2 separate regions of the Homo sapiens genome follow, and region 1 is linked to region 2. Evidence: promoter capture Hi-C in 16 types of primary human blood cells and fetal thymus (Javierre and others, 2016). All regions are on one chromosome and are shown on one strand. Each heading gives the region's core, a stretch centred on a gene start or on the middle of the fragment in contact. The rest is flanking DNA. Distances are from core to core; before and after follow the strand shown.

Region 1 (5,599 bases), core at 1,007-3,506, 1.0 Mb after region 2:
GCATTTGTTACATACATTAAAAAAATAACTAACCCAGCCTCCCTCACATGAAGTGGTAGAGGGAAATCAAAACAATCCTAAAACGTGTTTAGAATTTACATGGGACCTTTCACACGAAGCACGTCACAGACATCTGCAGGAAGAATAAATAGTCAAATAGGCAAAGCAGAAACTGAAACATGGAAAAGGGAAGTAAGATGTTCAGTTTCACTTAGCACAAATCATTCTCAGATCTCAGGCAGGAGCCCCAAAGTCCTGTCAGTCCAGGTTTTGTTCAACAGGCCACTTTGCACATAAAAGTAGAGTCACCCTTAAAAATAGCAAGTCTTCACCCAGGAACATCTCATAAATCTTCCCTTGTTGATATTTTCTCAGAGGTAAATATTCTGCTTCTAGTTTTTGGATCCCAGCTGCTCCTGAGACCATCATTATATCTGAAACTGTTTCTAAATGTCAAGTGAGGTCAGGCCTGGTGGCTCACACCTGTTAATTCCAGCACTTTGGGAGGCCGACGTGGCGGGGGAGAATTGCTTGAGCCCAGGAGTTAGAGACCAGCCTGGGCAATATGGTGAGACCCTGTCTCTACAAAAAAGTTTTTTAAAGTAGCCAGATGTGGTAGCTGGCACCTATATCCCCAGCTACTTGGGAAGCTGAGCTAGTATAATCGCTTGAGCCCAAGAGTTGGAGGCTGCAGTGAGCCGTGTTCACGGCACTGCGCTCAGCCTGGGGGACAGGGTGAGGCTGTGTCTCAAAAAATAAAATAAAAATAAAATAATAAATGTCAAGTATGACTCCCTTAAGCCACATTCCTGCTCTCGCCTGTCAGCATTCCAGCCTCTTTAAAAAAGATTAAGACCAGAGTTATTAATGAAGCAAACCCTAAATATGGAAGGCATCTCTACAGACTCCGATTCATCATTTAGTCAAAGTAGTTCGGGGTTTCTTTGGCTTTTTGTTTTTTGAAGACAGGGTCTTCCTCTGTCACCCAGGCTGGAGTGTAGTGGTGCGATCTCGGCTCAATGCAGCCTCGACTTATTGGACTCAAGTGATCCTCTCGCCTCAGCCTCCCGAGTAGCTGGCACCACAGGTGAGCACCACCACGCCGAGCTAATTTTTGTATTTTTGTAGAGACGGGGATCTCCCTAGGTTACCCAGGCTGGTCTCAAACTCCTGGACTCAAGCGACCCGCCTCAGCCTCCCCCAAGGTGCTGGAATTACAGGTGTGAGGCACCGCACCCGGTCCAAAGTAGTTTTTATATTTTAAATCCCCCAATTTCTAGAAGATATGAGCTTTCTGACATGGTTCCATATAAATAAATGTGAACTTGCTTAGTTTGCATTGTGAGGAAAAAGGGACAGGTTTGAAGACGAAAAGGAAATGGCACAGAGGTCCTGCCACTCTCTGACAGGGATTCGGCAATGACAAAGTGCAGAGTTTCTGGTCTCATTAGCAGTCCCCGCCCCACCGCACTGCCATGACACTCGCTCACTTTCTCCCCAGGCTCTCCTCGCCTTCATCCCCATGCTCATCTCTGCCTAAGCTTCTTCCGAGGCCACTCATAACGCTTCACCTCTGCTCCCAGGAATTCTCACATCCTCTTCGCGTTGGCCCCACTTGCTGTCACGGCAAGTTTCAGTCCGGGTGGTGCCCTGCCCCTGTCTATAGACTCTGGCCTGTAAAACCTCACTGCACCCCTCTGGCCTCTTCGCCCAGTCTCTCAGCTGCCACCTCCTCTCCAGCAGTCTTGGATCTGAGCTTCACCCTCCTCTGCTGCCCTTGCCCTCCGCAAATCCCACCCACCCTCCTCACCCTAAGCCGGTTCCTTCGTCCCATCCCCGCCCCGCCCGTCCTTCCTCTGCGAAATGCTTCCCAAACAAGTCCTCCGCAGCCGTCGTCCTCAAGACTCGTCGCGCCCGGCCCTTCTCTCCGTGACCCCGCGCCCTCCCAAGCCTCCCGGGGCTCCGGCGCCTGTCGCTGCCCCGACTCCGCGGCGGCTCCCAGCCCACCTGCTCTCCTCAGGCAGGCGCTCCTCGCCGCCTCCGAGCTCCATTCCCGCGCCCTCCGGCCGCATCCGGGGCGGTGAGGCCGCCTCTTCGCCCAAGAGAGGCGTCCCTGCCGCTTCGCCCTTCAGGGCTCCCGGGGCCCCCTGGGGCCGGAGGAGGCACCTGCGGCCGGTGGGCTCCGGGTGATGCGCTACACCCGGGCGGCGACAGCGGGAGGGACCGCCGCCTGGGCTGCGGCTTCTATCCCGGCCACCCCCACTTCCGGCTCCGGGGACTACAGCCCCCGGCGAGCACTCCGAGGCTAGGCCGCTCCCGCAGGACGCGTCCTCCAATCCCAGGCCGCGCTCGCAGACCGCGCCCCTCCAACGGCAGGCCGCTCCCGCAAGCCGCGCCCTCCAATCCCAGGCCGCTCCCGCAGGCCGCGCCCTCCAATCCCAGGCCGCGCTCGTGGATTACTACGCACCCGGTGGTTGGCTGGGCCGGCTTGCAAGCGGCGGGGGACCTTGGTCTCAGGAATCCGTGCCGGGGCGTATCCTTATTCACCCCCGTGACATTACACGCTGGGGACCGAACTCAGTCCGAGATGTAGACTAGGCAATAACGCTAATCTAATCCCGGTACGATTAACCCCACTCAGCCCGCCCTGGCTTAATGTCCGCTGGTGGTGTTTGGAGACCTCGAGCATTTAAATGAAGCGCTCACAAACAAGAGCACAGGTTGCTTTGGGATCATAAAAGAGCAGGAGAGAAAGGCTTCTGGGGGCTCTCGGAAGATGGATGTCAACGCAGAGTTTTCAAGGCTGAGTACGGGTTAGCCAGGAGAAAGAAGAGAAGGTGGAGAGAGCAACACGGCAGATACAAGGAAGGAAGTGCTGGCTTGGGAACTGCAGGTGCTGGGTAGCCAGAGCTGGGAAGGAGTGAGCAGCAGCATGGTGTGGGCATTCTGGTGTGGGGAAACCAGATCATGAAATGCCATTTTAAGGAGTTTGGATTTTATCCTGAAAACAATCAGCAAATCAAGCATATGCAAATCAAGAAGTGATTTGATCGAATCTGATGAGAAAGCCACTTTTGACAATGTGGACAGGAGATGGGGCAGATATAATACTATATTGAGGTAACGGTGGAAGGCTAGATAGGAGACTGGTCATCCTTATGGGGGATAACCAAGTAATGCTAAGAAGTGAAGCGAACCAGTTGAAAGAAACGTGGGCCTAGGGTTGCCAGATACTCTGGTTTCTCTTTTTTCTTTTTCAAAGACGGGGTCTCTCTCTGTCGCCCAGGCTGGGGTGCAGTGGCGCAATCATAGCTCCCTGCAGCCTGGAACTCCTGGGCTCAAGCAGTCCTCCTTCCTCAGCCTCCTGAATAGCTGGGACTACAGGTGCGAGCCACCACACCTAGCTATGATATTTTGATTTTTTAAAAGAAGCTAGGATCTGCATTTTTAAGCACTACTTCCAAATTTTTAAACGTTGGCAACAAATTTTTTAAACTTTCAACTTTGCACAGGCCAAACACAGCTTGTCTGTAGGCTGAAGGTGGCCCTTGAGTTGCTAGTTTGCAAACCCAGGCTTAAACTACAGCAGCGGTTGAAGAGAACAAGGAGGCTCAGATTACAGCAATGTGAAGGCAACAGAATCAGCACTACTCTATAAAGGACTGACTGTGGCAAGTGAGGGAGAAAGAGCGATCAAGAATAACTCCGTGAAAAACTAATGACTCTATATTAAAATAATATATGGCTTTTAGGTATTTTCAAACTTGACAAAAGTGTTTTGGCAATTAAAAATGAAATGAAAGAGCCTCTTGAAGCCATTTATGATTTCATTTAGGTTAAAAAAATACTCTCTTTCAAACTTTCTCATTTTCCTACTAAACGATTATACTTCTTTAAGAAAGGGGCAATATTACTCATTGGGATTTCTCTTCCTTCTGTGACTTTCTTCTCTTTTGGAGACGCAGTCTTGCTCTGTCACCCAGGCTGGGGTGCAGTAGCGCTGCCACAGTTCACTGCAGCCTCAACCTCCTCAAGCGGATCCTCTCACCTCAGCTTCCCAAGTAGCTGGGACCACAGGCAGTGCCACTATGCCCAGCTAATTTGTTTTTTTTTTTTTAATTTTTGGTAGAGACAGGGTCTCACTGTGCTGCCTAAGCTGGTCTCAAATTCCTGGGCTCAAGCAGTCCTCCTGCCTCAGTCACCCAAAAAGTATTGGGATTACAGGCATGAGGCACCATACCTGGCCTTACTTCTAGTTCTATAAATGTATGAACTTTATTTTTTGGCATACAGTATAATCCCAAATTAACACTATATTATTTATTTATTTATTTTTGAGACAGAGTTTCACTCTTGTTGGCTAGACTGGAGTGCAATGGCGCGATCGGGTTCAAGCGATTCTCCTGCCTCAGCCTCCTGAGCAGCTGGGATTACAGGCATCCGCCACCACGCCCGGCTAATTTTGTATTTTTTAGTAGGGACAAGGTTTCTCCATGTTGGTCAGGCCGGTCTTGAACTCCCGACCTCAGGTGATCCGCCGGCTTCGGCCTCCCAAAGTGCTGGGATTACAGGCGTACTAAAAAATACAAAAAAATTAGCCGGGCATGGTGGCAGACGCCTGTAATCCCAGCTACTCAGGAGGCTGAGGCAGGAGAATGGCTTGAACCCAGGAGGCAGGGCTTGCAGTGAGCCGAGATCGTGCTACTGCACTCCAGCCTGGGCGATAAGAGCAAGACTTCGTCTGAAAAAAGAAAAAAAAAAAAAGGCCGGGCGTGGTGGCTCATGCCTGTAATCCCAGCACTTTGGGAGGTCAAGGCGGGCAGATCACGAGGTCAGGAGATGGAGACTATCCTGGCTGACACGGTGAAACCCCGTCTCTACTAAAAATACAACAAAAAATTAGCCGGGCGTGGTGGCGGGCGCCTGTAGTCCCAGCTACTCCGGAGGCTGAGGCAGGAGAATGGCGTGATGAACCCGGGAGGCGGAGCTTGCAGTGAGCAGAGATCACGCCACTGCACTCCAGCCTGGAAGACAGAGCTAGACCTGGGCGACAGAGGGAGACTCCGTTTCAAAAAAAAAGGCAATCAGCTTTATCAGGAAATCCTAGGGGCCAGAAGCGGTGGCTCACGCCTGTAATCTCAACACTGGGAGGCCCAGGCAGGCGGGTCACTTGACACCAGGAGTTCGAAACCAGCCTGGCCAACATAGTGAAACTCTGTCTCTACTAAAAATACAAAGAAAAAATAGTCGGGTGTAGTGGCACACGCCTGTAATCCCAGCTACTTGGGTGGCTGAGGCATGAGAATCGTTTGAACCCGTGAGGTAGAGGTTGCAGTGAGCTGAGATTGTACCACTGCACTCCACCCTGGGTGACAGAGTGAGACTGTCTTGGGGAGAAAAAAAAGAAATCCAAAAACTAAAATTGTAGCAAAAAGGCTGGAAAACAGGCTTTTTCTCATATGTCCAAGTTCAAGTTACATGTACTGGATTTTCTTTAAAGCCATTAATAAACATGACAATAATCTGCACTAGCCATGCGTTACCTATCCCATCCCTCTACTTTCCCTCATAATCCTGAACCCCTTCTTTTGTTTTTTTT
Region 2 (5,706 bases), core at 2,521-5,020:
TTTGTATTATCTTGTAAACATGGCCAACATGGTGAAACCCCATCTCTACTAAAAATACAAAAAATTAGCCGGGAGTGGTGGCATGCGGCTGTAATCCCAGCTACTCGGGAGGCCGAGGCAGGAGAATCACTTGAACCCGGGAGGCAGAGGTTGCAGTGAGCCGAGATCGTACCACTGCACCCCAGCCTGGGCGACAGAGTGAGACTCCGTCACAAAAAAAAAAAAAAAAGGGAAAGAAAAAGAAAGAAATATACCTTTTAAGGAGTTCCTTTAGTGTGTCTCTGTTGGTAGCTTGTTTATGTTTGATGATATATTTATTTCATCCTCACTCATCTGATGGATAATTTAGGTAGTTGTACACTTTTTTTTTTTTTTTTTTTTTTGAGACAGAGTCTTGCTCTGTCGTCCAGGCTGGAGTGCAGTGGTGTGATCCCTGCTCACTGCAACCTCTGCTTCCTGGGTTCAAGTGATTCTCCTGCCTCAGCCTACCAAGTAGCTGGGACTACAGGCGCACACCACCACACCCTGCTATTTTTTATATTTTTAGCAGAGACAGGGTTTTGCCGTTGTTGGCCAGGCTGGTCTTGAACTCCTGATCTCAGGTGATCTGCCCACCTCAGCCTCCTAAAGTGCTGGGATTACAGGTGTGAGCCACTGTGCCCAGCCGGTAGCTGTACACTTCTAAGCTTGGTTATTTTCTCTTGGTACTTTGAAAATATACCATTATTGACTGGCACCCGTTTTGCTGTTGTGAAATCTGCTATGAATGTAATAGTTGTTTGTACAGAATGTCTTTTCTCTCTGGTTGCTTTATCTCTGGTATTCTGCGGTTTCATTTTCATGTGTTTGAAATTTCTTTACTTATCCTGCTTGGTATTCAGTTTGCTTCCTGAATCTGAAGATTCCTGTCTTTAATCAATTCTGGAAATTTTTCAGCCATTATCTCATCATTATCTGCCTCTCTTGGTTTTTCTCTTTTCTCTCCTGGAATTCTCATTAGGAGTATGGTAGAGACCTTAACAATCTATCCCCATGTCTCTTAAGCTTGCTTTCATTTTTCCTGTCTCTAGGCTGTTCTCAGTAATTTCTTTTGGTCTGTCTTCCAGTTTACTAATTTTCTCTTCAATTGTGTGTAATCTGCTATTTAACCAAACATTGGCTTTGGTTTCAGTTATTCTTTGTTTCTAGAAATTCTACTTAATTCTTTTGTTGTTGTTGTTTTTGTTTTGAGACGGAGTTTTGCTCTTGTTGCCCAGGCTGGAGTGCAATGGCATGTTCTTGGCTTACTGCAACCTCCACCTCCCAGGTTCAAGTGATTCTCCTGCCTCAGCCTCCTGAGTAGGTGGGACTACAGGTGCCCACCACCACGCCTGGCTAATTTTTGCATTTTTAGTAGAGACTGGGGTTTCACCATGTTGGCCAGGCTGGTCTCGAACTCCTGACCTCGGGTGATCTGCCCACCTCGGCCTCCCAAACTGCTGGGATTACAGGTGTGAGCCACCGCGCCTGGCCTACTTATTTCATTTTCAAAGCTGTTTGGTCGTTAAAAAAAAAAAGCATCTTGTTTCTTGCTCGTGTTTTCTAGCTCCTGTCTTACTTTCTTTAATCATTTAAATAGGCGTACTGTATATTCTGTAGCCATCAATTCCAGCAGCTAAAGTCTGTGTGGGTTTCATTATGTTCTTTGTAGTTTCTATTGACTCACTCATCGCTGCTTATTTCCTCAGGTGTATTGTATTTCGGGTGCTCATGTTTGGCTTCGGAAATCCTGTTTATCTGTGAAATCCTTTGAGACCGAGGTTGAGGGTACACCTGTGCAGTCAGGATTTGTATTTGTTTCTTCCAGGCCCCCCAGAACTCCAGCCTGGGACCACTTTCTTGACAAATTTGAACTTTAAAACCTTAGTGAGGGAAAATTCTAAAGGGTTATTAATTCTAAAGGGAAAATTTTCTTCTGCCCTGCAAGCCCACTGCAGGCCAAAGTAAACAAATGTCCTGTGTGTCTCCCTGGGCTAGCATAGGGTTTTTTTTCCCCCCAGTCTGTTCTTGGAGGGTATAGCGCCTTGAATTTCCAGTCCTATGCAGGATCACAGTCCTGACTTCTTGTATAGGCCCAAGTCCTTGTCTTTAGTTTCCTGTGCACCTATTAAAACTCTAGAGATTTCTGAGATAAGTAGGTGCCCTCAACACAACCATGGCTTCACTGCCCTGCTTACCACTCTGGTGTCCTGCCCCTTCTTCAGGTTGAGTGTGAAATTTGGAAGACTGTCAGAAACATTCTATTTTCATTCTTGCAAGTTATGCCTTTGAAAGGATGTCTTATTTATCCAGTGTTTCTGTGTGTTTAATAATCAGAGCATTTTTCAGGTTATCTCTTACTGTGCCATGTTGCTCCTTGATTCCTTTCTCTCCTGTACCCACTGCATCAATTGAGTTTTTTGCTCTACATTGATAGAGAAGCACAATTCCTCTTTCTTTCCACTGCCTTCCTACTTTATTTCCCTTCTATTCTTGCATCTCTATACTCCATTATCCACATTGCAGTCTAGTGATCTTAAAGTGTAAGCCAGGTAACATCGCTTTCCTGCTTAAAAAAGCCTTTTAATGGTTTTTTGTAATATAGACTTTTTACCATGGCATTCAGGATCTTTCATGACCTGAATCTTGTCTGCTGTAGTGTTTTCTTAATAGTACCGCCTTCTTGTTCTAGGCCCCAGCTACACAGGCCTTCTTAACTGACCGTAGCAAGCCCTTTTCTTTCTTCTCCTGCCTGTATTGCTTTTCTCTGGGTGCTTCTTATTGCTGTCTCTTTCTGTTCTTGCCTTAAGTGTCACCTCCTTAACGAGGCCTTCTCCGACCACCCTATCCAAAGTAACCTCGCCAAGTTTTTTCTTATACCAGGTGTGACTACTTTAATTACTGCGTCCTCATATAAGCTCCACAAAGGCTTGGTGAATCGTGTTCACCCTTGCATTTCTTTTGTGTTTTTTGTTTTGTTTTTGAGGCATGACGACTCTGTCACGCTGAAGTGCAGTGGCCCGATCTTGGCTCACTGCAGCCTCCTCCTCCTGGGTTCAAGCGATTCTCCTGCCTTAGTCTCCCGAGTAGCTGGGACTACAGATGCGTGCCACCATGCCCAGCTAATTTTTGTATTTTTAGTAGAAACGGGGTTTCATCGTGTTGGCCAGGCTGGTCTCGAACTCCCGACCTCAGGTGATCCGCCTGCCTCAGCCTCCCAAAGTGCTGGGATTACAGGCGTGAGCCACCGCACCTGAACCACCCTTGTATTTCTGATGCTTAACAGTGTCTAGTCCATATCAGACACTCAAATATTTGTAGAATAAGTGAAACATTGATGAACTCCTCCGTGGATAAAATAGGGAAGTCTTAATTTGCAAGGAGGTGATACTTAATTTAGCAGCAAAATTTTAGTTAAGAATTTGTAAGCAAAAAAGCAAAATGGATAACGGATGAATTCCCAGAAACAAATGTCGCGGAGCAGATGTGTATAACAGCAATCGTCTGTCAGCGTCTTCCGTCGGCAGAGACCTGCTTGGAGACAATGCTGAATTAAATGAGGGACTGGCTGCTCCTCTCAATACAAAGACTACCCAAGGAATAAAAGCAACGTCTATCACCGAACTACTACTCCCAGCGGCCCCCGCGCGGGCCTGCCCATGGGAGGTGGCGCTCGTCTCCGCCCCGGGGAGCTCCGGCTTCGGGGCGGGAGGGGTTCTGGGTTCTGGCCCCGCCCCGCCCCGCTCCCCGCCGTCTTCCTCCCCCAGGGTTGTGGCCACGCGCAGCGGCGGCGGTTGTTCCGCTTCCCCTCCGGCCCGGGCCGTCGCCATTGCCGAAGGCTCCCTCCCCTCCCCTCCCTGGCGTGCGCAGGACTCCGCCGCCGCTGGGCCTAGCGGTAGCAGCGGCTGCTCCAGCGCGGCGTCTCTTCCCGCCCCGCTTCCCCTTCCCTCCCCTCCCCTCCCCGCACCGCGCGCTAGCCCGGGGCGGCTCCGCAGCCCGCCGGGAGCTCTGACCGAGGCGCCTCGCTGGGGCGGGGACCTTGCCTTGCCCGGGGTAAGTGCACACAGGCCGGCCGGCGCGGGACGCAGGCCGGGTCTCTTCCTCCTCCTTCCTTCTCCGTGGCCTGGCGGGCGGGAGCGGCCCGGGACGGCCGACCTGCCCCGCGCGGGGCCGGGGAGCCGCCACCTGCGTGCTGGGAGCCGCAGCTCCTGGGGCGGTGGCTCATTGTCTGCTCCCCAGGGCCGTTTTCTTCGCTGGCTTTAGCCAGAAATGGGAAGCTCGCTGGGCTGCGGAGGTCTGACTCTTCCTGGACCCAGCCCTGCTCTGAACCTCGCGGCACCACGGTCTCTGCCGACTCTCGGTCTTCCCTCCCCTCGCGTTTCACCCTCTTCCTTTGCTCCGTTTTCTTAATGCTGGACCAGACTCTCCGGTTTTGTTCCTTGATTTTTCCTCTCACTGATTCTCAGCCCCTGCTTGCTCGCTCTCTGTTCACCCGTTTCACTGCTCAGGAATATTGTCGCGAGTAGCTTGACTGTTTTCTCAGCTCCAGCCTGTAACCTCTTTTCCACATTCCACATTGGTAAAAACGTAGAGCGTCCCGGGCGCTTGAGGGCCACCGCTTACGAACTGATCTTTCGGAGCTTCTCCTCGCTCCTGTTTGAGCTTCAGCCTAGGGGTGAAATTTGCTTCTTTAGATAACTTAGGTGAAGTTAAGATTGGTTTTTCACCATGTTTGGCTCTCTTGGAAACACACGCACGCACAAACACAAAACGTTGCCACTCAACCTTTTAACTAATTCTTTAAAGATAAGTCATCCAAGAACAGAAGCGTGTCATCGTCAGTGGGTGTGAGGTTGTACCCATCCTTGTATCTTAATTTTAGTAGTACTCTCCCTGGGCAGTGTGAGCGTGATTTGTTGTCCCTTGATAAATAACGAACTCCGGTTGATATCATTATCTCACTTCTGCGTTACAGGCGATGTGTCCTTTCTTTGTTTTCTTTTTTAACCTTTATAAAAAGACAAAATGGTTAGGCCTAAAATTAAACTACGAAGAGCTGTGTTTTGGATCAAGGTTGTGCACGTCACGTTTTTTCCCCTGCTGTGTTCGACTCTTCCGCTCTTATAAGTAGGCAGGATATTGAAATGTACAAGAATTTGCTCTGGGGATTTTGTTTTTGTAGGGTTGTCCAATAGAATAACACTCAGTAAAGTTACATTGGGATGAAGGCAGTGAATAGTAATTTTTAAAGCAGGTTAAAACTTGTCAACTTTGCCAGAAGGTCTGTGGCTTCTGTAAAGCCCACTCATGCTCGTGTATATATGAAGAGCCTTTTTCATGTTCTGTTAGGAGTATGGATTTCAGGCAACTTTTTCACTGTGTCATCCTCGGCTATTAAATCTTTCGAGCTACTTATTAGCCAAGCACATTGATTGACACTTATTACGGAAAGTGAACCTGTAATAGATGTAGGTCTTAAACCAACTTTCCGATTTGGTAACAGGTTGACCTAAATTCAGTGTATTTTGTGTTTTCACTAAGTAGCCCATTGTTACCTTTCCCTCCAGCAAGGCTCTGAAAAAAGTGGCTCCAATACTCAGCTTCAATACTGTCATCATTTCTTAAATAGTAGTATCAGTTGTCCTTAACTTAATGGATGTTTTATTGGCCTGAGGGATTAAGGTGTAG

Evidence for each region. The method cuts DNA at HindIII sites, captures the fragments that hold promoters and counts their contacts. A CHiCAGO score of 5 or more calls a contact.
Region 1: a contact is called between the fragment with the promoter of RUBCN here and the fragment with the promoter of PAK2 in region 2, in 2 of 17 cell types (M0 macrophages and total B cells). The highest score is 7.1, in M0 macrophages.

The regions. Positions count from the first base shown.
Region 1 is chr3:197,734,648-197,740,246 of GRCh38, forward strand. RUBCN (rubicon autophagy regulator) reads right to left here and starts at 2,257. Exons shown (of 20, transcript NM_014687.4): 1 at 2,008-2,257. The coding sequence starts at 2,072. RefSeq lists enhancers at 555-604, 1,535-2,382 and silencers at 1,971-2,520, 4,880-5,012. The HindIII fragment of the contact is 5,208 bases long and covers 1,540-5,599 here.
Region 2 is chr3:196,736,087-196,741,792 of GRCh38, forward strand. It overlaps PAK2 (p21 (RAC1) activated kinase 2), which reads left to right and starts at 3,771. Exons shown (of 15, transcript NM_002577.4): 1 at 3,771-4,071. RefSeq lists a silencer at 3,562-4,351. The HindIII fragment of the contact is 10,729 bases long and covers 1,043-5,706 here.